6 separate regions of the Homo sapiens genome follow, and all the other regions are linked to region 6. The links are contacts of gene promoters, found by promoter capture Hi-C in blood cells and fetal thymus (Javierre and others, 2016). All regions are on one chromosome and are shown on one strand. The core of a region is centred on a gene start or on the middle of the fragment in contact, and the rest is flanking DNA. Distances in the headings are between cores, read along the strand shown. Region 1 has its middle 32 kb from the start of RAB14. Region 2 overlaps LOC102723324 (a long non-coding RNA gene). Region 3 overlaps STOM (stomatin). Region 4 overlaps STOM (stomatin). Region 5 holds the start of GSN (gelsolin). Region 6 holds the start of MEGF9 (multiple EGF like domains 9).

Region 1 (4,763 bases), core at 1,977-4,476, 520 kb after region 6:
TGGCGGGTGCCTGTAAATCCAGCTACTTGGGAATCTGAGGCAGGAGAATTGCCTGAACCCAGGAGGCGGAGGTTGAAGTGAACTGAGATTATGCCACTGCACTCCAGCCTGGGTGACAGAGCGAGACTCTGTCTCAAATATATATATGTATATAAAAGCATTTGCAGCTATTCCAGATTAATATGGGAGGAAGTGATGGGAGAGACCAGAAGATTTGATAATCCCAAACCTAACTTGTTATAATGTGGTACAATGTAGACTGGTTTTCCTTGAGGTCAGGGACTGGACCTGCTTCATGACTGTCCAGTGCTGAGCACAGGGTGTGGCATCTGGTGGGATCTTAGGAAACATTTATGTAATGAGGAAATCTAGGAAATGTGATTGAAAATCTTCTTGACACCTTAGGGCCCTCACTATGATTGCAAAAATTATTAGTCTGTATAGATTAAAGCCAGGCTTCTGATTTATCTGGTGGGGCTGGTTAGTCAGTTATCCCTTTTTCACAGCCTCAGGCACTCTTGGCAGAGTTACATAAGTAAAAAGCCATGTGTGTATGCATGATAGGGATGAACGTATCAGTTAAGGGGCAGACTCCAATTTTGCAACCTTTTTAAAAAATATATTTTATTGTGATTAGAACACGTAACATGAGGACTACCCATTTAACAAATTTTCAAGTGTACGATATGGTATCATCGACTATAGATGTAATATTGTACAGCAGATCTATGGAGCTTATTCAATCTTGCTATCCTGAGCCAAGAAAATAAAAAGTATTTGTGTTTGTGAAATTGATTGGAAGAACTCTGCCAAAGGAAAGGCAACAGTTAGGTCTCAGGCAGGCCGGAAACCAAAACTCCATGGATCATAGAAGTAGAGACTCATGGGTACTTCCTTTCAAGAACCTCCGCTTTCCTTGATGTTTGCTTTGTGGCTGAGGAGACAAAGTGGCTCGATGGCACTCTCAGCTTACAATTCAGAGGAACCATTGTTGAGTCCCCTGATAGAAGTTTTCATCCCTTGGGCTTTGTGGTGGATTAAAGACGGCTACAAATTCCCTATCACTTCTCTGTTGAGAGGTGAAATGTGTTTCCTCAGCCCTTGAATACTGGGTTGGCCTGAGACTGCTTAACCAACAATATGTGGTAGAAGTGATGCTCTCTGTCAGCTCTGAGGTAGGCCTTTAATAAGACTAACAACCTCCTCTTCCTCCCTCTTGGAGCCCAGAGCTGCCACATAAGAAGTCCAGGCAAGCCAGGCGCGGTGGCTCATGCCTGTAATCCCAATACTTAGGGAGACTGAGGCAGGTGGATCACAAGGTCAGGAGTTCAAGACCAGCCTGATTAACATGGTGAAACCCCGTCTCTACTAAAAATACAAAAAATTAGTCGGGCGTGGTAGCATGCACCTGTAATCCCAGCTATTCAGGAGGCTGAGGCAGGAGAATCTCTTGAACCCAGGAGGTGGAGGTTGCAGTGAGCTGAGATCACGCCACTGCACTCTAGCCTGGGTGACAGAGCGAGACTCCATCTAAATAAATAAATAAATAAATAAATATCCAGGCTATTCTGCCAGGCACACAGAATAAGACCACTGAGGCACAGGAGGTCAAATAAAGATGCCATCTTTGATGTCCAGTCCAGTTAAACCTTCAGATGGTTCCAACCCCACCTAGCAACTGGCTGCAACCTCGTAAGAGACTCCAAGCAAGAACCACTGAGCTGAGCCCAGCCAACTCATAGAACCATGAGAGATAACAATATTTTACTATTTAAAGCCACAAAGTTTTGGAGTGGTTTGTTGTACAGCAACAGATAGCCAAAAGAGACCCTAAAACCTATAGCTAGCAAGGCCTAGAGTCTCAGGACAGGAAGTCTAACATTTGGAGAGCAGATGTTAGGTGTCACCTTGAGCAATTCCACCCCTTCGTTCCTGAAGCAATTGTTTCGATTGGAATTCAGTTTGCCTTCACTGAGCAACAGAAAACCCCAGACAATAATGCCTTGAACAAATCGAAAGTTTCTTTCTCTCACAAAAGTCTGGGTAAGTGATCCAGACTGGAATAGTGCTCTAAGATGTCAGGGACCCTGGTTCTTTATGCTTTTTTTATGCAATGCATGACCTAAGCCTCGTGGGTCAAGATGACACTTCAGGCAATAGGACAGAGGAAGGGATGCAAACACAAAGGGTGCTTTCTCCTGTAGAAGGTTATTTAAAGCCACCACATGTGGCTTCTTCTTGTATTCCATTGGTTAATATGTATCTCACGGCCGTGCCTAGCTGCAAGGGAGACTGGAAAATGGTATCTTGATTTTGGGTGGCCATGCACCCAGCTCTAAATTCTACTACTTCTAGTAAGAAAGGCTATTGGGAGACACTTTGCAGTGCCTGCCTCACTGCTACATCTTGAAAAGTAATAGAGAGACACAGGAAATGGCATCACATATGGGATGCTGACTCACAGCACCGATCCCTTCCGGAGGGGAGCAAGCAGTTATCTCCCCATGGGCACTGTGAGCCTCCACAAGGCCATTCTACTGTGCTATAGGAGCCAGCTGCTCCTGGGTCATGGGTGGGGTCTGTTAGGTGAAGAGTGAATCCCACAGGCCTTAAGTCACTGCCACTTTTGCCATGAAGTGAATTCCTTGATAAGAGGGAGCATCGTGTGACATACGATGACTAGGTAAAAGCTTCTATAAGCCCTCAGGCTGTGGTGCTGGTGGAGGCACGAAGGGCAGGGAAAGCAAATCCAGATAAAAAATAAATGTAGGGTTGGGCATGGTGCCTCATACCTGTAATCCGAGCACTTTGGGAGGCCAAGGCTGGAAGATCGCTTAAGCCCAGGAGTTAAAGTCTGCAGTGAGCTATGATTGCATCACCATACACTAGACTGAGCAACAGTGTGAGACCCCGTCTCTAAACAAATAAATTAAATAGTTAAATAAATAAATGTAGGACATTGCCATGAGAACAATTTGGCTGTTCCAGATGGAGTTAGTTCCCAGCTGAGAAACAGGGAGGTGTGGGGCAGAAGGAAGAGTGTTAGCTTCCTTCCTTCTCCATGAGAGGGAGGCGCAGAGGAAAGGCTGCAGACCAAGATGGTTAGTGGGTAGGAATTCTCCAAGTTCTCTCGCAAGCCCCAGATATCACCATCCTTTCCTAAAGGAAACCTGGCAAAGTCATGCCGTTGGCTGTCACTGAAATTCAGCAACTCCCCGAATCCGAGTTTGGCTTTAGCAATCTCGCACCCATGGCCCCAGTGAACAGTTTCCATCTGGCCAGAGAAAAGTCGTGAGTTTCACTTTGTGCCTTGTGGCAAACATCTCAAGACGTGAGCTTGTCCTTATCCTAAATCAAGATACCTGATGCTTTCAGAAGCAGCCACCCTACTGGTTTCCACATCTTTCATCTCCCTTTTAGGTGGCTGAGAATTTTAGCTTCAGCTTGTCCAAAGTCCCAGATTACCCAAAGAGATTATGTGCTTAGCCACTGTCTTCCAAGGGCTGGTCGTTCCTATTCTGGAAGACAATTAGGATTCTCAGTGCCTCTCTCCCTGTCCAGCTCAAGAATCATGGATCACTTGGAGGAAAAGCTAAGCTCCTGTAATAAAAAGGCAAACTAGAGTAGCCTATTTCCCCTTGAGGTGAGTGGCCCAGAGCAGAAGGGCAGCTTTGGTTCTTTGTCGCTCATTCTTCCCCAGGGCAGTGTTCTCTTCTGCATCGGTGCAGCTGGGTTCTGGCTGGTGGGAAAGAAGACAGTGGAGAAAGCTTGCTGGTTATCTTAGAACCCAGGCCCGGAAATGACACGTGACTCCCACTTCATTCCCCTGGTGAGAATTCAGGCACCTGGCCACCCTAAACACAAGCAAGGCTGGCAAAGACAGTCTAGGGGGACAGCCATGTGCCTGGCTCCTATTATACTTAGGCAAAAAAGTAGAATGGAAAGCCTTTTGGTGAACACCTAGCAGTCTCGGCCACATATTCCAAATAGCTCTTATTTCCTTGAGGGTCTGAATGAGTTTTCTAGGACTGCCATAACAAAGTATCATGAACTGGGTGGCTTAAAACAACAGAAATGTATTGTCTCACACTCTGGATGCCTGAAATCTGAAATCAAGGTGTCCACAGGACCACATTCCCTCTGAAGAGGCAATGGAAGGAGCTGTTCTCCAGACCGCACTCCTAGCACCTGGCAGCCACAGGTGTTTCTTGGTTTGTGGCTGCCTCACTCTAATTCTCTCTTTTTTTTCTTTTTCCATTATTTAACATGTTGTTGTTATTGTTGTTTGTTTGTTTGTTTTTTCCCCAAGACAGAGTCTTGCTGTGTTGCCTAGGCTGGAGTGCAGTGGTGCGATCTCGGCTTACTGCAGCCTCCACCTTCTGGGTTCAAGCAATTCTCCTGCCTCAGCCTCCCAAGTAGCTGGGACTACTGATACACGCTACCACGGCCGGCAAATTTTTGTATTTTTAATAGAGACAGGGTTTCACCACGTTGGCTGGTCTCGAACTCCTGACCTCGTGATCTGCCCGCCTCAGCCTCCCAAAGTGCCTGGATTACAGGCATGAGCCACCATGCCCGGCCAACATGTATTTTCATTTATATCCAAATATCACATTTTCTACATTAAAATTATACTGACTTCCCCCGTACCCTACACCCTAAGAGAAAAAAAGAAAAGAAATTTACACAATTTGAAAGGTAGAATGCATGGAGTAGGGAAGTTGCTATTGCACCTGAGTAACAAAGAACAGAGAGACCAAACA
Region 2 (4,515 bases), core at 1,186-3,685, 690 kb after region 6:
CGCTAATTGTCAGAGAAATGCAAATCAAAACCATAATGAGATACCATCTCATATCAGTTAGAATGGCTATTATTATTATTATTTTATTTTTATTATATTTTAGATGGAATCTCGCTCTGTTGCCAGGCTGGAGTGCAGTGGCACAACCTCAGCTCACTGCAACCTCTGCCTCCTGGGTTCAAGTGATTCTCCTGCCTCAGCCACCATGCCCACCTAATTTTTGTATTTTTAGTAGAGATGGGGTTTCACCATGTTGGCCAGGATGTCTCCATCTCTTGACCTCGTGATCCACACGCCTCAGCCTCTCGAAGTGCTGGGATTACAGTTGTGAGCCACTGCGCCGGGCTGGCTATTATTAAAAAATAAAAATAAATAGATGCTGGTAAGCCTGCAGAGAAAAGGGAAACTTATACACTTTTGGTGGGAATGTAAATTAGTTCAGCTACTGTGGAAAGCTGTTTTTTGAGTTGTGTGAGTTCTTTACATATTCTACATACCTAACTCATCAGGTAAATTATTTGCAAAAGTTTTCTCCCATTTTATGGGTTGTCTTTCCACTTTGTTGTTAGTATTCTTTGATACACTAAAGTTTTGTATTTTGATGAATTCTAATTTATTTTTTTCTTTTGATTGTGCTTTTGGTGTCATATCTAAGAAACCATTCCCAGCTGTGCATGGTAGTGTGCGCCTGTTGTCCCAGTTACTTGGGAGGCTGAGGCGGGAGGATCCCTTGAGCCCAGGAGTTTGAGGTTTTAATACTGTACTGTAGTGAAACAGTGTATTATAGTGAAACAGCATAGTGAAACTTTGTCTCTAAAAAAAAAAAATTCTTTTTAAAGAAATAAATCTTTGCTAAATCCAAGATAATCATTTATTCCTATATTTTCTTCTAAGAGTTTCATAGTTTTAGCTCTTATGTTTAGATTTTTTATCCATTGTGAGTTAACTTTTGTAAATGGTCTGAGGTAAGGGCCTAGCGTTATTTTGTGGGACAGTTTTCTTCTTGTGTCATTTGTAATTTTATATTTTTCTAAAATAATTTCTATTTCATCCATATATTCAAATTTATTAAAGTTGCTTATAATATGCTTTGTTAGCTTTTAAATATCTGTATTATTGGTAAGAGTAGCTCCCCCTTTTTATATGATACTGTTACTTGTGCTTTCTTTTTTTCTTGTCTAATTTTGCCAGTGGTTTGTCAATTTTATTAGTCTTTTTAAATAGAAACCACTACTAGCAAAGAAATAGAACATTGTCAGTCTTTCTTCTTTTCTGAGCACTGATGATGCTCTAGACCTTGGCCTAGATAGTTGGGTTTTATTTGTTTGTTTGAGACAGGGTTTCACTTTATCGCCCAGGCTAGAGTGCAGTGAGTGCACAATATTACCTCACTGTAGTCTTGACCTCCTGGGCTCAAGTGATTCTCCCACCTCAGCCTCCTGAGTAGCTGGGACTACAGATGTGCACCACCACTCTCAGCTAATTTTTACATTTTTTTGTAGAAACAAGGTCCCACTATGTTACCCAGGCTGGTCTCAAACTTCTGGACTCAAATGATCCTCCTGCCTCAGCCTCCCAAAGTGCTGGAATTACAGGTGTGAGCCACTATTCCCAGCCATAACTCGTTTTTGCTACATATTACTCAACTACATATTACTCAACTAATGTTTTTGCTAAACATTACTCATTCATTCAATACATATTTTGAGCACCTACTATGTATTGAGGATACATCAGTGAACAGACAGGAAATTCTGTTCTCATGAAGCTTACATTCTGGTCGGGGAGATAGATAATAAATAAAATAAGTAAATTACATAATATTTTAGTACCTTAGAAGGGATTAAGGGCTGTGAAGAAAAATAACTGGAGAAATGGATAAGGAGGGAACAGACTACTGGAATTTTTAAAAAAATGGTAGACATGTAAGACCTCATTGAGGGTACATATTTTTTAAAAATTAGTTTGAAATAATTATGTGTTTATGGGAAGTTACAAAGATGATTCAGAGAGTTCTATTAGCCTTCACTAGTTACCCCTAATAGTTGCATTCTTGTGTAACTATAGTACAGTATAAAAACCAAGAAAGTAGCATTAGTATAATGTGTGCTTATAGTAGTATGCCATTTTATCACACATATAGATTCTTGTACCAATACCACAGTCAAGATACTGAACTAGGCTGGTAGCAGTGGCTCACACTTGTAATCCCAGCACTTTGGGAGGCTGAGACGGGTGGGATCACTTGAGGCCAGGAGTTCAAGACCAGCCTGGCCAACATGGTAAAACCCCGTCTCTACTAAAAATACAAAAATTAGCCAGGTGTGGTGGTGTGCGCCTGTAGTTGCAGCTAGTTGGGAGGCTGAGGCATGAGAATTGCTTGAACCCGGGAGGCGGAGGTTGTAGTGAGCCAAGATCGTGCCACTGCACTCCAGCCTGGGTGACGGAGCCACACTCTGTTAAAAAAAAAAAGATGCAGAACTATTCTGTCCTCACAAAGATATTCCTTATGCTATGTTATAACACAAAGATGTCTTTATAGTTCACCTTACTCCCCTCACTTCTACCATCACTAACCCCTGGCAACCATTCATCTGTTCTCCACCTCTCTAATTTTGTCATTTCAAAAGCATTATATAGATGGAATCATACAGTATATAACCTTTTGAAACGATATTTTTTTCACTCAGCACAATGCCTTTTTGGTCTATCTGAGTTCCTTTCTTTGTGTATTCCATGATGTTAGTATACCACAGTTTGTTTAACCATTCACCCATTGAAGGACATTTTGGTTGTTTTCAGTTTCTGGCTATTACAAATAAAGCTGCCATGAGCATTGGTGTGCAGGGTTTTATGTAGATATAAGATTTCTTTAGGATAAATACTAAAAGTGCAATTCTTGGGTTGCATGGTTGTATATATTTAGTTTTTTAAGAAACTGCCAAAATACTTTTCAGAGTGGTTATACCATTTTATCAGTAATGGTGGGATGAGAAACGTTGTTTCTCTGCATCTTGCCAGAACATGGTATTGTTATAATTTTTTATTAATATTTTAGCTCTTCTAATAGCACCTGGCTAATCTGAATTTATATCAGAAATGAAAGCTTAATTTTGATTAATAAAACCAATCGATATAATTCACTTTATTAAGAAATACTGGAAAAAGTTATTTGATCATCTCCGTGGACACACAGTTTGATGAAATTTACCAAATATTCATGATAAAAATTCTTAGCATACTAGAATAAAAGAAAATTTCCTGCCAACTAGGTCAGGACAAAAATGAAAAAAAAAAAAAAAAAGAAAAAAGAAAATTTCCTTGGTACAATGAAAGGTATGTACAATGTAATACCTAGAGCAACCACTTAAAAAAATCTATATGAAGAGATACACTCGAAAACACTATCAATAAATCAAAATGGAATTCTGAAAAATGTTCAAGTAATCCACAGAAAGGCAAGAAAAGAGAAACAGAGGAAACAAAAAAACAAAGGGAACAAACAGAAAAGAAAAAATAAAATGTCAGACCTACGCCCTAACATATCAGTATTAATAATCAGTGAGCTCTGGACTCTCTTCTTTATCCCCTTTGCCGCTCAAGGTTTTCAAAAGCACCACTCATTCTCTTAAAGGACTTTTATTAAATAGGCAGATGACCCCAGGGGAAAGGTCATCTCAAATGCCGGGCTAACCCTCCTGAGCCTCTGTCTTTCTGGCTCAGTAATTACCCTCCTGGCTAAGTAATTCCAAAGAGTTATGGTAGATTTCTGATGTCACAAAGAAAATTTTTAAAAAATACTTTTTTCAGCTTTGTTTTAGGGCCTCAGCCTTAGATTGTATTTCCTAGTGCAGTTTTTTAAAAAAAAAATCGGTGACCTCTCTCATCTAATGCTTTCTCTGTTCTTGTAGATGCTTTACTTTTTCCCTGTCATTTTGATGAGATTTGGGGCAAGACCATGGAAAAGGATGTAAAGATGGCACAGGCTCATTATTCCCTGAGCTTCTATCCTCTAAGATCCTAGGCTGGGAATTCTACGTAATCTTGTTAGCTCTGTGATGTCCTCAATTGGTAAAAGAGTTGGATCTTATTTCCTAGACTAGAGATTGACAAATTATGGCCTGTGGTCTGCCTATTTTTGCATGACCCATGAGCTAATAATTTTTTGCTTTACATTTCTTAAACTTGTTTTTGAATAGTTTTAGATTTACAAAAATTTGTGAAAATAGTAGAGTTCCCATATGACCCACACCCTATTTCCCCTATTATTAACATCTTACATTAGTATAGTACATTTGTCACAATTAATGAGCCAATATTGATGCATATTATTGACTCAAGTCTACACTTTTGATTTCCTTAGTTTTTATCTAATGTCCTTTTTCTGTTCCAGGCTCCCAACCAAGATTCCTCACTATGTTTACTAATCAAATCTCTTGAGACTCCTCTTGGCTTTGACAATTTCTCAAACTTTCCTTGTTTATGATGACTTTGACAGTTTGAGGAGTGTTAATA
Region 3 (4,533 bases), core at 1,694-4,193, 640 kb after region 6:
GGAAGGGTAGGAAGGAAAGGGTAACAAAAGATTGGCTAGAACCACTGCTATTGTTATACAACTCCTGCTACATGAACTCTTATCTAAGACAGAGTAGAAGAGGCCCTCATAAGGGAAATCACGTCAATAAAAAAATTTTAGACTGGGCACGGTGGCTCACGTCTGTAATCCTAGTGCTTTGGGAAGCTGGGGTGGGATGATTGCTTGAGGTCAGGAGTTCAAGGCTGCAGTGAGACATGAGCATGCCACTGTACTCCAGCCTGGGCGACGGAATGAAACCCTGTCTTTAAAAAAACAACTACCTAAAAATAAAAAAAATAAAAAGAACTTTAGTTTTCAGATAAACAATCTAGAATCCCAGTACTGACCAGGTCCTTTGGCTCCTCCTTGTAAAATGCGACCCAATCTAAAGATGATGGCTCTTTCATACTCTTTTATAATCTAGAATAAAAACATGAATAATAATTTAACATGAAGAGTACAAATATATACATGCATGGCTTCTTAAATATATATTTCTGCTCTAAACAGATTAGATGCCTCATCTTTTTTCTTTAGAACCAGATCATATCTATAAATCACATGTCCAATGTTTACCTTCTCAAAGCTTATTTATTATTTTCTTACTGATTACAAAAGCAATAGATATTCACTGTATAAATTTAGGAAGGACAGAATAGTATACAGAAACAAATCCATAACCTCACTCCTCAGCTGTTAACATTGTTATTCAGTTACTCATGCAGGCCAGGCACGGTGGCTCACGCCTGTAATTTCAGCATTTTGGAAGGCCGAGGTGGGCAGATCACGGAGGTTAGGAGTTCAAGACCAGCCTGGCCAACATGGTGAAACCCTGTTTCTACTAAAAATACAAAAATTATCCGGGTATGGTGGTGGGTGCCTATAATCCAAGCTACAAGGGAGGATGAGACAGGAGAATCACTTGAACCGAGATCGCACCACTGCACTCCAGCCTGGGCCACAAGGTGACTCCGTCTCAAAAAAAAAAAAAAAAAAATAATAATAATAATAATAATCCCAGCTACACGGGAGGCTGAGGCAGAAGAATCGCTTGAACCTGGGAGGCGGAGGTTGCAGTGAGCCGAGATCGCGCCACTGCACTCCAGCCTGGGCGACAGAGCAAGGCTCTGGCTCAAAAAAAAAAAAAAAAATTACTCATGCATTGTTAATTCAGAAACACAAAAAGCTGAAGTCTTCACAGTTTTTCTTCTGATTCCCTTAAGAATAAATTGATCTGAAAATGCTTGGAGCATATTTTATCTTCTTAGAAATATGTAAATAATAGTCATATATCAAAGTATTAACAACTTTGTAGAAAAAATAACGAGCACTGAGGGTATTTATGACGTGCCAGGCATTGTGATAAGTACATTTAGACACATAATTCATTTAATCCTCGCAACACTCCTATGAAGTAGGTACTGTTACTTTCTCCCATTTTACAGGTGAGGAAACAGCAAAGGTCACACAATAAACAGTAAAGCCAGCAGTCAAACCCTATCATCCTAACTCTGAAGAACTTGTTCTCTCAGAACCATCTCACATCCCTGGCCCCAGGAAATTTTTGATGGTGAAACTTACTTTAGCCCACGGGGAAGGGCAATGGCTGAAAAGAAGTTTTAAGGTTCCATTTTAATAGGTGGGTAGAAGAATAAATTTTCCAAAGAAAGATGAAGAAATAAGAATTATAAGAGAGAGAGACAGTCTGTTTCTTTCTCACATACACACAGGCACACACGAAGTAGGTTTATGGAGGTAGGAGTTGACCCCTTCCCAGAAGTGAATGAAATGTTCTTTACCTTTATGCACATCCATATTGAGATTGGGAAAGTTATAACGGTGAATAAGAATGAGAACGCCACCAAAATCCATCCGCAAGGTCCAAGGCCCTTACTGGGGCTGTCTGTTGAAAACAAAAAATATACAACTCTCACAACTGTTACTAGCATAATCACCACCATCTTCATCCTTACCATTCGCTGAATACCTATGTGCTTGGCACTACACCAGCTGTTTTACATGAATTTCCCCATCTAATCCTCATACAGCCCTGAAGTGTAAGTACTACTTTCCCTTATCTATGTGATGTCATAACACAAGTATATTTCCACATTACTCATTACTTTATTCAGCAAACATTTATTAAGCATCTACTATTTATTAGGCCCTCTGCTTTGTACTGAAATGATAACAATGAGTAAGACCCAATCCCAGCTTTCAGGGTTAAAGTTTAGTGGGAAAGTCAGACAAACACATAATTATAATATTAGGTGGTAAGTACAGATATAGAGTATCTGTTCAGAATATTTTGAAGACACAGAATGAGTTAACTCACGCAGTTAGGATGGAGGTGAGAAAGGAATGGGGCGGGGAGGTGATTCAGGTGGCTGTCAGAGGGTTTCCTGAAGGATGTAATAGTAAGAAAATATCGACGAAAAGAAAGTGGAGGCTGGGCGTCGTGGCTCACGCCTGTAATCCCAGCACTTTGGGAGGCCGAGACAGGTGGATCACTTGAGGTCAAGAGTTCAAGACCAGCCTGATCAACATGATAAAACCCCGTCTCTACTAAAAATACAAAAATTAGCTAGGCGTTGTGGTGAGTGCCTGTAATCCCAGCTACTGGGAAGGCTGAGGCAGGAGAATTGCATGAACCCAGGAGGTGGAGGTTGCAGTGAGCCAAGATTGTACCACTGCACTCCAGCCTGGGCAACAGAGGAAGAATCTGTCAAAAGAAAAGAAAAGAAAAGAAAAAGGAAAGAGGGAAAAGGCATTAGAGCATTTTAGCTAGGAGTACAGTACGAATAAAGGTGAAAACCATATGATATGAGTATAAAGTTGTTTAGAGCCTCTTTTTAAAAATTACACCTGTAAAATATTTCACTAGGTTTATGCAGCATCATTTATTGCCCACTTCCTGATTACACAGGTTGTTTGATTTCTTAGTGCTATAAACAGTGTTGTAGTGAACATCTTTGTACACGGCTTTCCTCTCACATTTCTAATTGTTTCCTGTTCCTGTAATATGCAACAGCTTTTCCGTCTGATTACAAAGGTAATAATGCAAAAAATTCACAGAAGTATAACAAAGGAGGGAAAAATTACTTTAAATTCAGAGGTATTTTGGTATATTCTTTGAAAATTTTCCTAGTGTACACACCATATTTTTAAATGATATATATATATATATTTATTTATTTATTTTTTGAGACAGAGTCTTGCTCTGTTGCCCAGGCTGGAGTGCAGCAGCACAGTCTCACCTCACTGCAACCTCCACCTCCTGGGATCATGCGATTCTCCCGTCTCAATCTCCTGAGTAGCTGGGATTACAGCCACCTGCCACCACACCCGGCTACTTTTTGTATTTAGTACAGATGGGGTTTCACCATGTTGGCCAGGCTGGCCTCGAACTCCTGACGTCAAGTGATCTGCCCACCATGGCCTTCCAAAGTGCTGGGATTACAGGCATAAGCCACTGCGCCCGGCCTTAAATCATATTTTTAAAAATAAATAAATAAATAAAATGTGTAACCTATTTTTCTTCCCTGTAGCTATTCTCTTTCACCTTCTTTTTTGGCCTTCGTGGTTATGCATTTGTGTTTTTGAAGTTACACTTGCATAAAGTTTAAAAAGTCAAACCATTCTATATGATTAGTACAAAAAAAGGGCATTCCCATGCTCACCTCTTCCAATTTCCTCCTCCTCAAAAACATTTGCTATTTTGACCATTTTGATATCTACCTCCATATTTCTAAATAATACGCTTTGCAGCTGGGTGCAGGGGTCACACCTGTAATCCCAGCACTTTGGGAGGCTGAGGAGGGAGGATCCCTTGAGCCCAGGGGTTTGAGACTAGCTTGGGCAACATAGGGAGACTCTGTCTCTACTTTAAAAAAAAAAAAAATAATAATAATAATATGCTTCTGCCAGGCATGGTGGCTCACGCCTGTAATCCCAGCACTTTGGGAGGCCGAGATGGGAGGATTGCTTGAGCTCAGGAGTTTGAGACCAGCATGGGCAACCTAGTGAGACTCCCATCTCTACTTGAAACTTCTTAAAAAAAATTAGCTGTGTGTGGTGGCACACACCTGTAGTCCCAGCTACTGAGGAGACTGAAATAGGGGGATTGCTTGAGCCTGGGGGTTCGTGGCTGCAGTGAGCTGTGATGTACCCCAGCCTGGACAACAAAGTGAGGAAAGAAAGAAAGAAAGAAAAGGAAGGAAGGAAGGAAGGAAATGCTTGTTTTGTTACTTCTTGCTTTTTCAGTTTTGAGGACTATTAACTTTCTACTACAGAAAAAGATTTAGTTCTCTTTCCTCCCCGTTACCCCCACCACATACTTATACCCAGCTTTCCAATATAATTACATCATAACTTCATTTAGATCAATATGAGATTTTATATTATGAATTTGTAAGTGCAATTTAAAGCTAAGCCAAGTAGTGAGGTATCACTGGTTTTCTCTTCCTGTACTATTTTTGTTTTTTCTGGAATTACTGTCTTATTTTTTCCCTT
Region 4 (4,816 bases), core at 1,535-4,034, 620 kb after region 6:
GAATCCATATTGGGTCACATAATCATTCCTGATGGAATCATGGGCTAGAAGGATGGAATTATTCATAGGCCAGTTAGGTTCATCCTAGCAGGTGGGGGTGAATTCTTCTCCTGAGGTCAGAGCGCTCAGGGGGAGGTATCTGAACAAAGTCATGGCTCCTAGGAAGGAGGGAGGAGATAAATGGATGCTGGGTAGACCGCCATTTTGTTGGAGACTTCTGGGGGCCAGATGCGGAAAATTAAAAGTAATGGCTCCTTACAGTTCTGTGGCATCCAGTAATTAATTTTCAGACTGTTCAATTTCCAGTCATTTTCCCCCGGAATCTTTTAGGGAAGATTTGCAGCCTGCATTATGATTACTATGTTTCTAGAGTTTATTGTAAAACCACAGTTTTAACAGCGGCTTCAATTTCCTTTCTCACTAAACTCTTCTGGCTACAGGGTAGATTGAAAGGGGCTGTATCCTATTAGCCAGTGTGACTGGTTTAGGCAAATCCTAGCTTGATCTGAGCCTGGGTCTGCTGTAGACCTGATGTTAACAACATCACAGGAAGAGATCATCACTAATATCCCCGGAGATTTTCCTGTGGCCTGGTCAACACAGCCAAATGAGATTATGCATGGACATGAAAAAAGCTGTGTAAAGTGTCTTGCACAGTGCTGGCATTCAACCGTGGTTCCTTTTGCCTTCTTCTTGGTTCCTATAAAGTAAAAACTCTTCAGGTAACTGCATAGCTGTGTAGTTGGATCTTAGACATGATCTAGCCCAGGATTTCTTAAGTCTTTGGATAGGTTTGGGAGTGGGGCCAGTGTACCCCCAAAGCATCCAAATTTGTGTTGTGCACACTATGTGCAGTTTTCAGACGAAGCTCTGTAGCTTCCAACACATTCTCAAAAGGTCTGAGACCCAAACAGCTGGACTATAATCTCCCTGTTTTACAGGTGAGGAAAATGAGGCTGAGAGAACATATGACTTATCCAAGGTCACATTATAAAGTGGATGCTATAGCAAGGAAAGCACTCCAGAGCAGTGATTTTCAAACAGAAATATGTAGAATTCTATGAGGTGCTTCTGTGATTTTGTAAATATTAGATTCAAATTCCATGTTTAAAGTGGTAATAAAAACAGACAAGCAAAATGGAGAAATCGAATGTAGACTCTGAATATAAGATTGGAACTCTTTCGTAACTCTAATATTGTTTTTCAAAACAGCCTCATTGTTCTCATTGAGTTACTTTATATTCAGTAAATGTTATAAATGTGAACTCAAGAATTTATCCTGGCAAAAGACACCGTAAACCTTTTACTGATGCAGTTACCTTTGAAAAAAGGGGTTTGCTGCTGAAAGTAAGAGGAAGAGGCACTTGATTCACTATTTACTAGCCAAGTAACTGTGAGAGCAGGTTTGTGAGTATCACAAGAAATGATATATTTTAAAATGCTACATAAGCTGAGAGTCTATGGAACACTGGTTTCCTCCTGCTCAGGACAGTGTGTTATGACATTTGTGGTTACAAATGCCCAATCGGGCCGGGTGCAGTGGCTCACACATGTAATCCCAGCACTTTGGGAGGCCGAGGTGGGCAGATCACCTGAGGTCAGGAGTTCGAGACCAGCCTGGCCAACATGGTGAAACCCCATCTCTACTAAAAATAAAAATACAAAAATTAGCCGGGCGTGGTGGCATGCGCCTGTAGTCCCAGCTACTCAGGAGGCTGAGGCAGGAGAATCGCTTGAACCCAGGAGGCAGAGGTTGCAGTGAGCCAAGATCACGCCATTACACTCCAGCCTGGATGACAAGAGCGAGACTCCATCTCAAAGAAAAAAAAAAAACAAACAAATGCCCAATTGACTCTCCTCTTTTTATAGTGAACTTTGGCTGAATTGGATGGCCCAAAACAAAAGTTTAAGTTTAGGGCCCAGTTAGGTGTGAATGTAAAGACAAATGAACTTTGATAGTCTTGGGAAAAGTTGTGATCTATCTACAAAATGGTGGTGGTGGTGTGTGGATGGGGGCACTAGAGGCAGGCAGTGTCACACGAAGATACACTGATACACCTCACAAATCTTTGGCATTAGACAGATCTGGGTTTGAATCCCAGCTCTGTTTCTTTCCGACCATGTGACTTTGGCTGTTTTAACCTTTGAGCCTTCAGTGTCCTCATCTACAAAATGGTGATAATAAAGTGTCTATCAAACCATTTTGAGATAAAATGATAGAATGTACATACACGTATTTGTGCACAGAGCTGAGTGACTGGTGCTCCCAAATGGTAGCCACTAATTCAAGACAGTTCTGTCAGATGTTGCAGGTAAAACACATTGGTTTTTTATCATTATTTGTTTCTTTTTAAGTAAAGGCTATGTCTATGTGATTAACTGGGTGACAGCAAGAAGTGGGTTCCTGTCCTGTTTGGAGGAAGGCAAAAGAAAATGAAGTCAGTTAAAGCTTTGTGGTGGTGGTGGAGGGTGTGTGTGGATCTTGAAACTCCCCAGGGAAAATGTGTGGGCCAGTGCACCAGAGGGTGCCTGGACCTGGGAGACAGCAGATGGCCCACAGCAGCCTGTCCCCTTCCCCTGGCCCACAAAGCACACGAAGAAGCCAACCAGCCAGCTCAGAACCGGAGGATCTAATGTACTACTTCTGAAAACGGAAATCCACAGACATTCAATACAGGCCGAAACAGACTCTCACCCCAAAAATATTAGTGAAAGTGCATACACTTTATTATGTACATTGTTGGAAAGGGAGGCCACCTGGAGAAACTTCTGCACTGGCACTGTGTTCCTAGAGCTCCTTCTATGCGTCCCTCCCAAGTGATTTAATTTCAGCTGATTGGACTACGAATTCACAAGGCAGAAAAGTCAAGGTCATTTGGTATCTGGAGACAGGAGAACTCAAGGAACCAAAAGCACTGTTACTCTAAGTCTCAGAAAAGGTTTTCAGTCAGGATATGGAGGCTCCTGGTCCTCAAGGGTGAACCACTTCACACAACAGATAAAACCATCATTTTAAAATTCAAAATGTAAGTGCAACTTGAGTTTAAGTTGCACTGCTCCATACCTCTAATAAACTCAGCTAGGAGCCAGGATACATGGTAGTTCAAGGCTTCCTAAAATAAGCTTGAAATTGGGGTACAGGGGAAGGGACATCCATTGGCTGGATGGACAGAGTGGTTGAGCTAAAGAGAGCTATAAAGGCTCGTGCTGGGAAAGAAAGCTGTTATGCTTAGACTTCTCTAGGTGAACTCAGAGTCTCAAAGAGGAAATGTTACAAATGTCACCCGCCAGCTTTCTGGCCAGTAAGCAGAATGCCAGGTTGCTCAGATTCACAGACATTTGCAAAACAGAAGATGTCTCCTAATATTATAGACTAAGAATTTGTTGTCCAGAGGAGCTGACCAGTTCCTCTTTCAGCATCAATATACATGATAGAAGAATGACTAGGTAAATTTAAAAAGACCTACATCTATATAGATATTGTAAGTTTGACAGTATCTGCCCAAGATCATTAGACACTATATAGTCAATATACTGTGAATTCCTTATACTATGTAATGAATGGGTTTGTAATCAACATATTTCACAGTGTACCACAGTTAACAGCATGCAGATAGTAAAATATAATGGTTTCCTGAAGTTATCTCTTAAAAAAGTATTTTAGTCCTTCAGCTATTCAAATAGATATATAACAATTGCATATAGAACGTAGAGAAAATTTTATTAAAAAATTAAAACTATTTAAAACCTGATATATGAAAATAGGCAACAGTGAGAAAAAAGCACTTTTGTGACAAATATTTAGCTGGTTTGAAAGACAGAACAAGGAGGAATCATTTACTCATAAAGAAGGCTCAAATAAGTTAAAACATGGATGTATTTTTAAAATGACCACTCTAGTAGTGAATTTAAAAGTCTTTTAAGGGTTAGAGTAATCTTTTTCATTAGTCTTGGCTATTTCCTCTAGTTCTGACAAGTACAGGCAAGAAAATGGCTACTCTCAAGTAAGGATTATTCTGAAACACGGTCTGGATTTAGAAAATAAATGAACATTAGGGAAATTTCCTTAATTAAGACTCTCCAAACCAGGTGTGGTAGCTCATGCCTGTAATCCCAGCACTTTGGGAGGCAGAGGTGGGTGGATCACCTGAGGTTAGGAGTTCGTGACTAGCCTGGCCAACATGGTGAAACCCCGTCTCTACTAAAAAACAATAATAATAATACAAAAATTAGCTGGGCATGGTGGCATGAGCCTGTAATCCCAGCTACTGGGGAGGCTGAGGCAGGAGAATCTCTTGAACCCAGGAGGCGGAGGTTGCAGTGAGCCGAGATCATGCTATTGCACTCCAGCCTGGGCAACAAGAGTGAAACTCCATCTCAGAAAAAAAAAAAAAAAGACTCTCTGGAGGTAAGGCACATATGACCTGGAGAAGCTGGTTGTGGTGTAAGGTCATCACTTTCTGCAAAGCATTTAGCCAGTCAGCGGTGTCAGGTGGCAGTTACAGCCCAGGTTCTTGCCTCTGGCCTGGGTGCTTAGGGGGTTCAGAATGAGTCAGTGGAAGTCAAAACAAGAGGGATCTAACCTACTACATAATAATCTAAAAATACAAACTTTTAACTATTTTAAGACTAACAGATTACCTTATATAAATCACCAATCTCTCAGTATTTACAAGCTAACAATTCTTTCACCTATTTTTATAACTGCTATACATTCTGGGAACACCACAATTGACATATGGAAAAAGAAAAGCCCTACCCTCTCTTTATGAGTTAAAGGCTAATTTGGTCCCCGACTTCATGCTTGGAAGGCTAG
Region 5 (4,457 bases), core at 435-2,934, 550 kb after region 6:
GAACTCACCATCATGAGAACGGCATGGGGGAAACTGCCCCCATGATCCAATCACCTCCCTTCCACCAGATTCCTTCCTTGACACATGGGGATTATGGGGATTACAATTCGAGATGAGATTTGGGTGGGAACACAGAGCCAGACCATATCAATTTATAATTTACTTAATTATAAGTTTATATAGATTGTTATTGAAGGCTGTGCTTAATACAGCCTTAATACAGCTGGGTGTAAGAATGCATGGAAATTTGGCCAGGTGTGATGGCTTACTCCTATAATCCCAGCACTTTCAAAGGCTGAGGTGGGAGGATCTCTTGAGCCCAAAAGTTTAAGACCAGTCTGGTAACATAGAGAGACTTCATCTCTACAAATAACATAAAAATTAGCCAGGCCTGGTGGGATGTACCTGTGGTCCCACCTACTTGGGAGGCTAAGGCAGGAGGATTGCTTGAGCCCAGAGGTCAAGGCTGCAGGAAGCCATGTTTGTGCCACTGACTCCAGCCTGGGTGACAGTGAAATCTTGTCTCAAAAAAATCCACAAAAATTCATGGAAATTGAGCAATCAGTTCGTAAGAAAACAACACTAAACACACTAAATCAGTTCTTAAGAACACAACACTAGCACAACACTAAAGGGGACCGAGGCTGGAGAAAATAACAGTCTCCTTTCCTTCTTCCAGCTCTGTCTTTCTCTGACCTCCACACCTTTGCTTATTCTGTGCTCTTAGCAGAAGATGCTGTTCCCTTCCTCACCTCCACTCTTATTCTTTCCATCCTTTCAAGGCTGACTGAATCCAAGCCGTTGTCTCTGCTTGGCTTCCCCTCCCCTTTTCTCTGGGAAGTGCACCCCCTCCACCCACAGGTTACAGTGGGAGCAGCCAGGTTTGTGCAGTAGGACCCTGTCACTCGGGCCAGAGTTAATTAGATAAAGGGTAGGCATCTGATCCAACTTAGAATGTGGACTACAAACAAAGATTCCAGCTTGCTGCTGGTAAAAGCCATTTTCTGGAAAGCAGAAATGCTTGTGTGATGTGAGCAGACAGGCAGAGATGAAAGATGGGGGAGAGAGTACTTTCTGGGTTCCCTTTAGTACTCAGGTCCTGCTTGTGGTCTGATCCTGAGGCCCAGCTGCACCCCTGCCCTAGTGTTCCATGGGATATTTCAGGATCTCCTGAGAGTGCTCTCTCAAGTAATCCCTTGTATGAAATCCCTGTCTCATCCTCTGCTTCTAGGGACAAACTACAAGGCATTCGATGCTCAACAAATACTTGTGCTGATAACTTCTCTTTCTGAAGCCAGCTCCAGGAGAGGTCTGTAATCAGAAGAGCCCCTGAACCCTGAAGCCTCCTGGGCTGCCCAGCCCAGGCATCTCCTCTGTGAGTTTTGCGACACCCTTCTAGTCATTTAACGAGCCTCATTGGCTTTCTCTGTGAATACGATGGAAGATGGCCACCTCAAAATGGCAGCCTTGGCCTTCAGAGATCATTGGTCCTCACAGACCCAGTTAATTAACCATGATTGTCATGTCTCAACTTCCAGCTCCAAATTCTAATAGTCCAGCTTTTTTCTGCCGTCCACTCCTCATGCTGTCAACTGTGTTGTGGGGGAAGGTTACAGTACAAACCTGGGTGCAAGTGAGGGCCATCCCCTTGGGTGGGAAGAGGCGTTCTCAGAGGAGAGAGCAGGTACCCCCAGATTGTCTAATGCCTGGCCTGTGTGTGGCCTTCATTTCTCCCCAGCCTCACTCTGGGAAGGAGGTGGTCTTCTGGCAAAAGAAGATATCAAAGTTCTTCCATCAGAGGAGATCCTTATCAGCAAGACATTCACTCTGAGGTGAGGATCCAGGACAAACAGGCCTTACCTTACCTAGATCCAATGGGGGGAGAAGTACAAAGAGGTATCTAGAAAGGAATGAAGACAGGATACCAAGAAGACTTCTAGGCATCCATGAAAGGCAGACTTGATATATCCTGCCAGCTATAAAATACACATGTTGAGTCATAAAGCAAAGCACCAGGAGATTTCTAGAAGTGTTCCTAGAGGAGCACTCCCATGTAAGTATTGGTTATCATCATCACAATCATCATCAATCAATCATCATCATCATTATCTTCATTATCATTTCTAATGATTCCTGGTGATACCCTGTTCCCATGTTCCTCTCCAGCCACCAAATGGAGCAATTACAGGGTTATGGGTAGGCATCTGACCCAGCTTAGAATATGGAACCTTAGATCTAGCTTAGAATGTGAACCCTTTTGCTCTCCTGGCCTCAGTTTCTCCATCTCTAAAGGGAGGAGTTGGAGCAGACATTCTCCAATGTTTCCTCCATCGTGATGTGGTATTCTCCAGTTCTATGGGGACACAGATTCAGAGTTCCACCTCCCTTTGTCTGAGAGCAGTTGCTGGGGCTGGAAATGATATGTTAGATAATTCCAAGGCATGTGTATGCCGGGGCTTGTAATCAAAGATTCCAGAGCCAAATAAGCCTGTGTTTTTGCTTTTCTCCCCAGCAGCCTTGCATTGGGCCCCAGGCAGCCTCTGGAGAAAGCAGAGAGTAGCAGAGATGGTGTGAGCCTCCCTGCGGGGTGGATACCTTGCTTGTATTCTCAGAGAAAGTGGAACTGGGCAGAATTTCCCAAGCCAGGAAAGGTGGCAGAGTGTGACATAAGACATTGAGCAAAGAAGCGAGGGCCAAGGACTCAGGCATAGAAGAGTAGACTGCACAGTATCAGTAGTGTGACCTCCAGAGAGTACTTAACCCTTTCTGTGGGCTTGGCCTGCTCATCTGAAAAATACACATGGTAATGCCTCCCTTAGGAGGCCAGGTAGGGAGGTGAGAATTAAAGTCGGTAATACGTGGGAAGCCCAGAGCATGGCATGAGGCATTCAAGAAATGGTTCTTGTATTTACTGGTGTTGAACAAAGAGAGAATGGCAGGAGGAAGAGCCAGGGTGAGATTCCCTGGGTCCTGTGGCTTCCCTGGCTGCTATTCAATGGAAAAACCAGGGAGTGAGCACTGTGCTCTTGGCTTCTGTGCTACTTAAACAACAGCCTTTTCTGCTCTGATCCCCAGCACCCGGCAATTACTGACTCTAGTACATTTTACCTTGTGTTAAGAGGGAGCTTTACCCTGGCTGAACATGGGGCTGCTGCCAGCACCCAGGCTGGGAATGGACATCTCTGTCATGTGGTGCAGTCTCCTGTGGAGTGTGTGAATCCTTCCAAACCGGAGTCACGCGGCAACTCCAAAAGTCCTGGGAACTCATGTGTGCACCAGGACTGCTGGGAGGCCGTCTTATGCCTTGCTGCATTATAAACGGCTATCGTCTCAAATGCATATGAGATGTTGTTGAAATCAACAAAGTATTACATTTGCTTAAAATTGACCTTGCACTCATCTTTCTACCCAATGTGGATTTCCTCAATCTCCTAAAACAGTATCTGCCATGACACTAATAAGAACATCCCTTCCGTTTATGCAGAAGCCACGGTCCCTGTCATTGTGCTGAGAGTCTTTTTCTCACTGAGTCTTCTCAACCGCCCCATGAAGCGGCAATTCAGGATGCCCATTTGACAAACGAGGAAACGGAGACTTAGACATGTGAGCTCGCTTGCCCAAAGTTACAGGACTAGTCGATGTCTGGGGTTCCAAACCAGGCCTTCTGACTCCGAGGCGCCTGCTTAATGGTCCACTTTAAGGACCAGGGATGCACTTGGCATTTTCGTTACTTCATTCGGAATGAGCTGGGAATCGCTCTTCCTCCTTATTCCCTTCCGTGGGAGGGAATCTCCCCTGCTTTGCATGCAGCCTATGTCACTCTTCGAGGGCTTTGCCTCCTGAAGTCCGTTCTCTCCAGGGCTGAAATCTGCCTCCGCTGGTGCTAGTTGAGCATTGCTCGCTTGCCCGTCCCATCTGAGCTCTTTGGCCCCAGCCCAGCTCAGGAGCTGCCCTGGGTCTCCTCCCCGACCCTAGGCCTCTTCAGATCTCCCCTCCGTGCTCCGGGCCTCAGTTTCCTCCAGGGGAAAGCAGAGGGCTTGGTTTGGTGCCTTCCTGCGAGGTGAAGCGAGGGGTCCCCCTGGACGAAGGCGAGCTTGGAGCCACCCGCCCAGCAGCCGACGGGAGGGCCTGGCGCTCCTCCCCCACCCGCCTGCCCGGCCGCCCCGCCCCGAGGGCGGCTCCCGCCCGCGCCCTGCCCACCCCGGCCGCGCGCACCACAACGCCCCCGCCCCGCCGCCCGGAACCAGCTGAGCGCAGCTGGACCCAGCAGCCGCTGTCTCCAGTGCCGCAGCAGCAGGTAGGGGAGGCGCGCGGCCCCGGCCCCGGGCATCTGGGGGTCCCGGGCTGATTTGAGTCCTTCCTCTCCCTTCCTTCCCGGTCCTATCTCGCCCGCGCCTGGAGCTCGGCCCGGCCGCGGGGGCATCGCTGGAAAAGGGCTTCCTCGCTCACTTTTCCCG
Region 6 (4,607 bases), core at 1,542-4,041:
ATCAGATACTAACCAAAGTAAGTGATCTTTCTACTTAAATGCTACTGTATGCTTAAAACTCCAGAGAATCTAATTCATTCTTTTTCTATTATATTTTACTAAAACAAATAAAAATCACCCCAAGTCCCTACTAGTTTTCTCAAATGCTTTCTATACATACATACATACACACACACACACACACACACACACACCCACAGGCCTGGTCATAAGCATAGCTAACACACACGGTGCTTATTCTACACTAGGAACTGTTGTAAGCACAGTAAGTGTTAACTTATTTAATCTTCCCAGCAGGCCTGGTGAAGTGAATCATGCCTGAAATCCTAGAACTTTGGGAGGCCGAGGCAGGAGGACTGCTTGAGTTCAGGAACTCAAGACTAGCCTGGGCAATATAGTGAGCCCTCATCTCTACAAAAAATACAAAAAATTAGCTGGGTGTGGTGACCCACGCCTGTAGTCTCAGCTGCTCAGGAAGCTGAGGTGGGAGGATCGCTTGAGCCTGGGAGGCAGAGGTTGCAGTGAGCCAAGATTGTGCCACTGCACTTCAGCCTGGGCAACAGAGCCAGACCCTGTCTCAAAAAACAAAAACAAAAACAAAAAAAGTCTTCACAGCAACCTTATGAGTTAAGTACTACTATAATATTATCTTCATTTCACAATCAAAGAAACTGAGTCCAAAGAGCTTCAGTGAGCCGCCTAAGCTTACACAGCTAACAAGGGGAAGAGCTAGGATTCAAACCTAAGAATAAACTCCAGAGTCCATACTCTCAACCACTATGCTTCCTGTCTCTCAGTAATATGTCAATCTCTCTATATGAAAGCCAAAAGGGGTTACAGGTAAAACCCAGCTAGCTAATGCATTCCTTGAAGCTGGAAGAGATGCACACTTGGCTTTTTATGGGTGAATAATCCTACTTATGTCATTGCCAAGCTCCAACCCAAGGATCAAGACTGTATTAAGGTTCATAACCATGTGGGAAAATTCTCTACACACTCAATTATAGTCCAAAGTCCATACCTGACTCCACAGTAAATCACTAAGCCTAAGATTTAGGTCAGAGACCCAGCTAGACAAAGGATTTGGACAAACCTCCACCCCAACTCAAAGCAAGACAATTCAGAAACTTTTGTCCAAACGTTCTGACAAAGTAGGCTTTTGTTTTGTTTTGTTTTAGTCCTAGGCCCACTTAAGATTTAAACGGGGAAAGAATACGAGTTGTCTTTAACTTTGCTTGAAGACTTCAGCAAGAAAAGCCTTTTCTACGTGGGCTCAAACAGAAATTGGCATATATCAGCATCAGCAAAGTTGAACATCCTGGCTTAAGGAGACAAAAATAGGCATCCTTGCTTAAATGGTGTATTTGGCCAAACATGTTGACCTTATAATTGTGGAAGAAAAAAATGGTGCGAGGAAGAGATTTAACCTAATTTGTAAATGTGCTCAGCCTAGATACACACCTGTCCCAAATGACCTACTGAATCCACTTATTTGCAGGGACAACATGGATTACAATGCCTTTTTTGTTTTTATTTTTTGCCCTCAAGTGGTCCATACTACTGTTTGTAAACAAAATCCTCTCACTACCTCTCTTCCACCTGTCATACACACACATCTGATATTTACATAAACAAGAAGAAATGAACAGGGAAACTGGAGCTTTGGGAGGAATTCCTTACCCTCAGCTTTTGACCCAGTGGTTGAAGGAGGTACTATGCGGGCTTTCAAACTTCCCCAAATAACCCAGGCAGAGAGGCTGGGTGCGCGAACCCAACCCAAAAGTTTGCGCCCATTCTGGTCTCTGAAAAAGGCCAGAAAGCCCTGTTGGGAAGAAGATGAGATGCCTTCCACCCAGCAGCCACCCCCTCCCGAGGGAGCACAGCCCACGGGGGACAAAAGACTTTCCAGATTGATCGGGGGCGGGAGGGAGACTAGCTGGACCTGGGATCCCCCCTCGGGAGCCGGAACCTGGGGTGTCTTTGGGGTAACAAACGATAAATTATAGGCAAGAGCCCAACCCTAGATTGCCGGGGCTGAGGTGAGGACGGGTCCTGCCCGAGAGGGAGCGCCGGACTCACCTGGAGGAGGCGAAGAGGGGGCCTCGGTGGCAGGTGGGGTGGGGAGGACGCTGCTGTTGCTGCTGCTGGGGAGATCGGGGGTCGGGGTCCGGGGAGTCGTGGGCGCCGGTACGGTGGTCGCTACAGGGGTGGTCGGCGCCGGGCCAGTGGTCGTCGAAAGGGTGGTCGGCGCGGGTCTGGTCGGCGCCTGAGAGGTGGTCGAAGTGCGTTCCGCCGCCGGAGGGGTGGTCGGCGAGGGGCCGAGCGGCGCCTGAAAGGTGGTGGAAGAGGGTCCAGCAGTCGCCCAAAGAGGGGTGGTCTCCGGGGACTGGGCTGGAGAAGTCGCAGCCAGGGGTCGGTGGACGGTGGCGCGCGGGGGCCCGGTCCTCGGGGCCTGGGCCGTGGGAGCCGTCGCCCTAGGGAAGGGGTGGCTGGGCTCGCCCCGCAACCCGGGGCCCGGCGACGCGTCCACCTGCCCCGCGGCCCCGCCGCCACCGGTGACATTCCCCGCCGAGGCGGCTGAGGCGACGGCGGCGGCGGCGGCGGCGGCGGCGCAGCACAACAGGGCGAGGCCGCCCAGGCTCGGCAGGCTCCTCATGGCGCGCTCGGCTCCGCCATTCATTCATTCAGCCAGTCGGTTGGTCAGTCATCTTCTCCTCGTTGCAATCCGACCAAGGAAGCCTCCGCAACCGCCGCCGCCACCGCCACCGGGCGCACCATCGCCACCTCCCTCTGACAGGCGGCCGGCCCCGCGGGCGGGCCCCAGCGCGGAGGGAGCGACCGGACCGAGCGCGGACCGCCCGCCCTCCTCGATTGGCAGCCGCGCCTAACCAATGGGAAGCCACAGTCGCCCACGTGATCCGCCCGCTTCCCGGCCTCTTTGTAGCCCCGTAGGCCAATCAGAGGACGTCCAGGAGAGGGGGCGGTCCGTGAGGCGGGAGAAGGGTGGTGCGAGCCCAGCTCTAGCCCGCCGGGCTCGCGGCGGCCCCGGCTTTGTCTGCCCAAAGAGTGGGGCGCGGGCCTCGGGCACCGGGCGCCGCGGAGCAGACAAAGGATGCGCCCCGCGCGGCAGACGCCGGGCCTAGTCATCTGCTCCACCGGGCTGCGAGCACGAGCGGGGGGTGGAATCAGCACTCGGGAGCATCCCCGCCCTCCTGAACAATGGGGCGCCAGCGCCGCACCCCAGCTCGGGCGGGGACCGCGCGGGAACCCCGCGATGGGAGAGGGCAGCGGCAGCGACGATGTAGAGCTTGGCATGCCCTCTGCTGCTCCAGAGAGCCTGGTCGCAGCCTTGCGAGGTCTCTGCCGCCATTCCCATTTCAGAGATGGGGAAGCTGAGGCCCTTGCTGAGGGCCTCCCTGAACCGAGACCCACGCCCTCACCAGAAACCTGCTGTGGGCCAGGTGTTGTGCCAGACTGGACAAGGGGGCGGGACCGGGCGGTGGAGACCCCTGAGGGCAGAAGGTGCAAGCTTCCTGCGTGGAGGAGACAGGCTCGCAAGCACACTTACCTAAACCCCGGGAAGAATAGGATCAGACAGGGTTGAACCTCAACTTGATGTCTTTTGCTGAATGGTTTTGTGGCCTGAGCGCGGTTTTTTCACCACTAAAATGGAGATGATAGGACACCCCTCACCCCCCACCCCCCTCACAGAGCTGTTGTGAGAATTAAGTCATGGACGTAAAGGGCTTAGCCCAGAGCCTGGCCCACTGTTGTAACCCTCATTAATGCTAACTATTCTCAGCATTTGCGCCAGGGCAAGCCCAGGATTAGAAAGCAGCCCCAGGCCACAGCCCTTCAGTGCCCCCAGAGCCTCCGGCTGGTTGCAGGGGTTGGGGTGGGGCTAATAGCCGAGCTTGACCCTGGATGACACTAAACCCTGAATCAAGCTGGAATTCGGGCACGCAGCCTCGCATCATCCGCCCAGGATCCAGAGCTAGGTCAGGCGCTGCTGCTTCGGCTCAGCAGCTTCCAGAGGAAGCCAGGCAGGGCGGGTTTGTCATCTGATGGGGCTTAATTCAAGCCCCACTGCTAACCCAATCCCGGCCTCCCCTACGTGATGTTTGGCTTTGTGCATGGTTTCCCATTAGTCATTGGTCTTCAACCAGACCAGCAGGATGAGATTTATGTGTGAACCCGTGTATGTTAATTAAAGCATGCATTTATTTTCCTGCATGAGTAGTGGGTGGGGGAGGCTGTGTATGAATGCATAAACATGTTTGTGAGTCTGTGTGTATGAGTGTTGTATGTATCTGTGTGAGTTTATGAGTATGGGAGCTAGTATCTATTTTCATATATTGTGTCTTAATAATCTGTGCATGTGTACTGGTGTGTGTTTTTGTGTATTTTCTGTGTTTTTGCATTTGTGGTTATCTATGGGTGTGTCTTGATAGGTCTATGTATATAAGACAGCGGGAATGAGGGAGAATGTGAGTGTTCTGTCTTCAGGACCAATATTTAGCAAGCACTAACCAAGGTTCTATTTTTACTTTGCTTTGGGAGGGTGGACAGGTCATGCCAGTCCCCCATATTCCCTTGCTGACCCTCCC

What was found. Contacts are between HindIII fragments. The CHiCAGO score rates a contact against its expected background, and 5 or more counts as called.
Region 1: a contact is called between a fragment that was not itself captured here and the fragment with the promoter of MEGF9 in region 6, in 2 of 17 cell types (monocytes and activated CD4 T cells). The highest score is 5.3, in monocytes.
Region 2: a fragment that was not itself captured here is called in contact with the fragment with the promoter of MEGF9 in region 6 in 5 of 17 cell types (total CD4 T cells, naive B cells, naive CD4 T cells and 2 more); the score reaches 6.8 in total CD4 T cells.
Region 3: a fragment that was not itself captured here is called in contact with the fragment with the promoter of MEGF9 in region 6 in 7 of 17 cell types (naive B cells, total CD4 T cells, activated CD4 T cells and 4 more); the score reaches 7.3 in naive B cells.
Region 4: a fragment that was not itself captured here is called in contact with the fragment with the promoter of MEGF9 in region 6 in 2 of 17 cell types (total CD8 T cells and naive B cells); the score reaches 6.0 in total CD8 T cells.
Region 5: a fragment that was not itself captured here is called in contact with the fragment with the promoter of MEGF9 in region 6 in 5 of 17 cell types (monocytes, total CD4 T cells, erythroblasts and 2 more); the score reaches 10.2 in monocytes.

What each region holds. Positions count from the first base shown.
Region 1 is chr9:121,231,932-121,236,694 of GRCh38, forward strand. It overlaps a transcript of GSN not described here. Among named protein-coding and RNA genes, the nearest start is that of RAB14, 32 kb to the left of the region's middle. The HindIII fragment of the contact is 1,077 bases long and covers 2,689-3,765 here.
Region 2 is chr9:121,403,421-121,407,935 of GRCh38, forward strand. The region is part of intron 3 of LOC102723324 (a long non-coding RNA gene); the gene reads left to right. Among named protein-coding and RNA genes, the nearest start is that of STOM, 35 kb to the left of the region's middle. The HindIII fragment of the contact is 1,338 bases long and covers 1,767-3,104 here.
Region 3 is chr9:121,354,233-121,358,765 of GRCh38, forward strand. It overlaps STOM (stomatin), which reads right to left. Exons shown (of 7, transcript NM_004099.6): 2 at 1,821-1,924; 3 at 369-441. Among named protein-coding and RNA genes, the nearest start is that of STOM, 14 kb to the right of the region's middle. The HindIII fragment of the contact is 4,677 bases long and covers 606-4,533 here.
Region 4 is chr9:121,336,372-121,341,187 of GRCh38, forward strand. STOM (stomatin) reads right to left here. Exons shown (of 7, transcript NM_004099.6): 7 at 2,616-4,816. Among named protein-coding and RNA genes, the nearest start is that of STOM, 31 kb to the right of the region's middle. The HindIII fragment of the contact is 674 bases long and covers 2,448-3,121 here.
Region 5 is chr9:121,263,923-121,268,379 of GRCh38, forward strand. GSN (gelsolin) reads left to right here and starts at 4,240. Exons shown (of 18, transcript NM_198252.3): 1 at 4,240-4,297. RefSeq lists a silencer at 4,128-4,427. The HindIII fragment of the contact is 6,397 bases long and covers 1-4,457 here.
Region 6 is chr9:120,711,679-120,716,285 of GRCh38, forward strand. MEGF9 (multiple EGF like domains 9) reads right to left here and starts at 2,792. Exons shown (of 6, transcript NM_001080497.3): 1 at 2,080-2,792. The coding sequence starts at 2,680. RefSeq lists a silencer at 2,480-3,329. The HindIII fragment of the contact is 2,825 bases long and covers 703-3,527 here.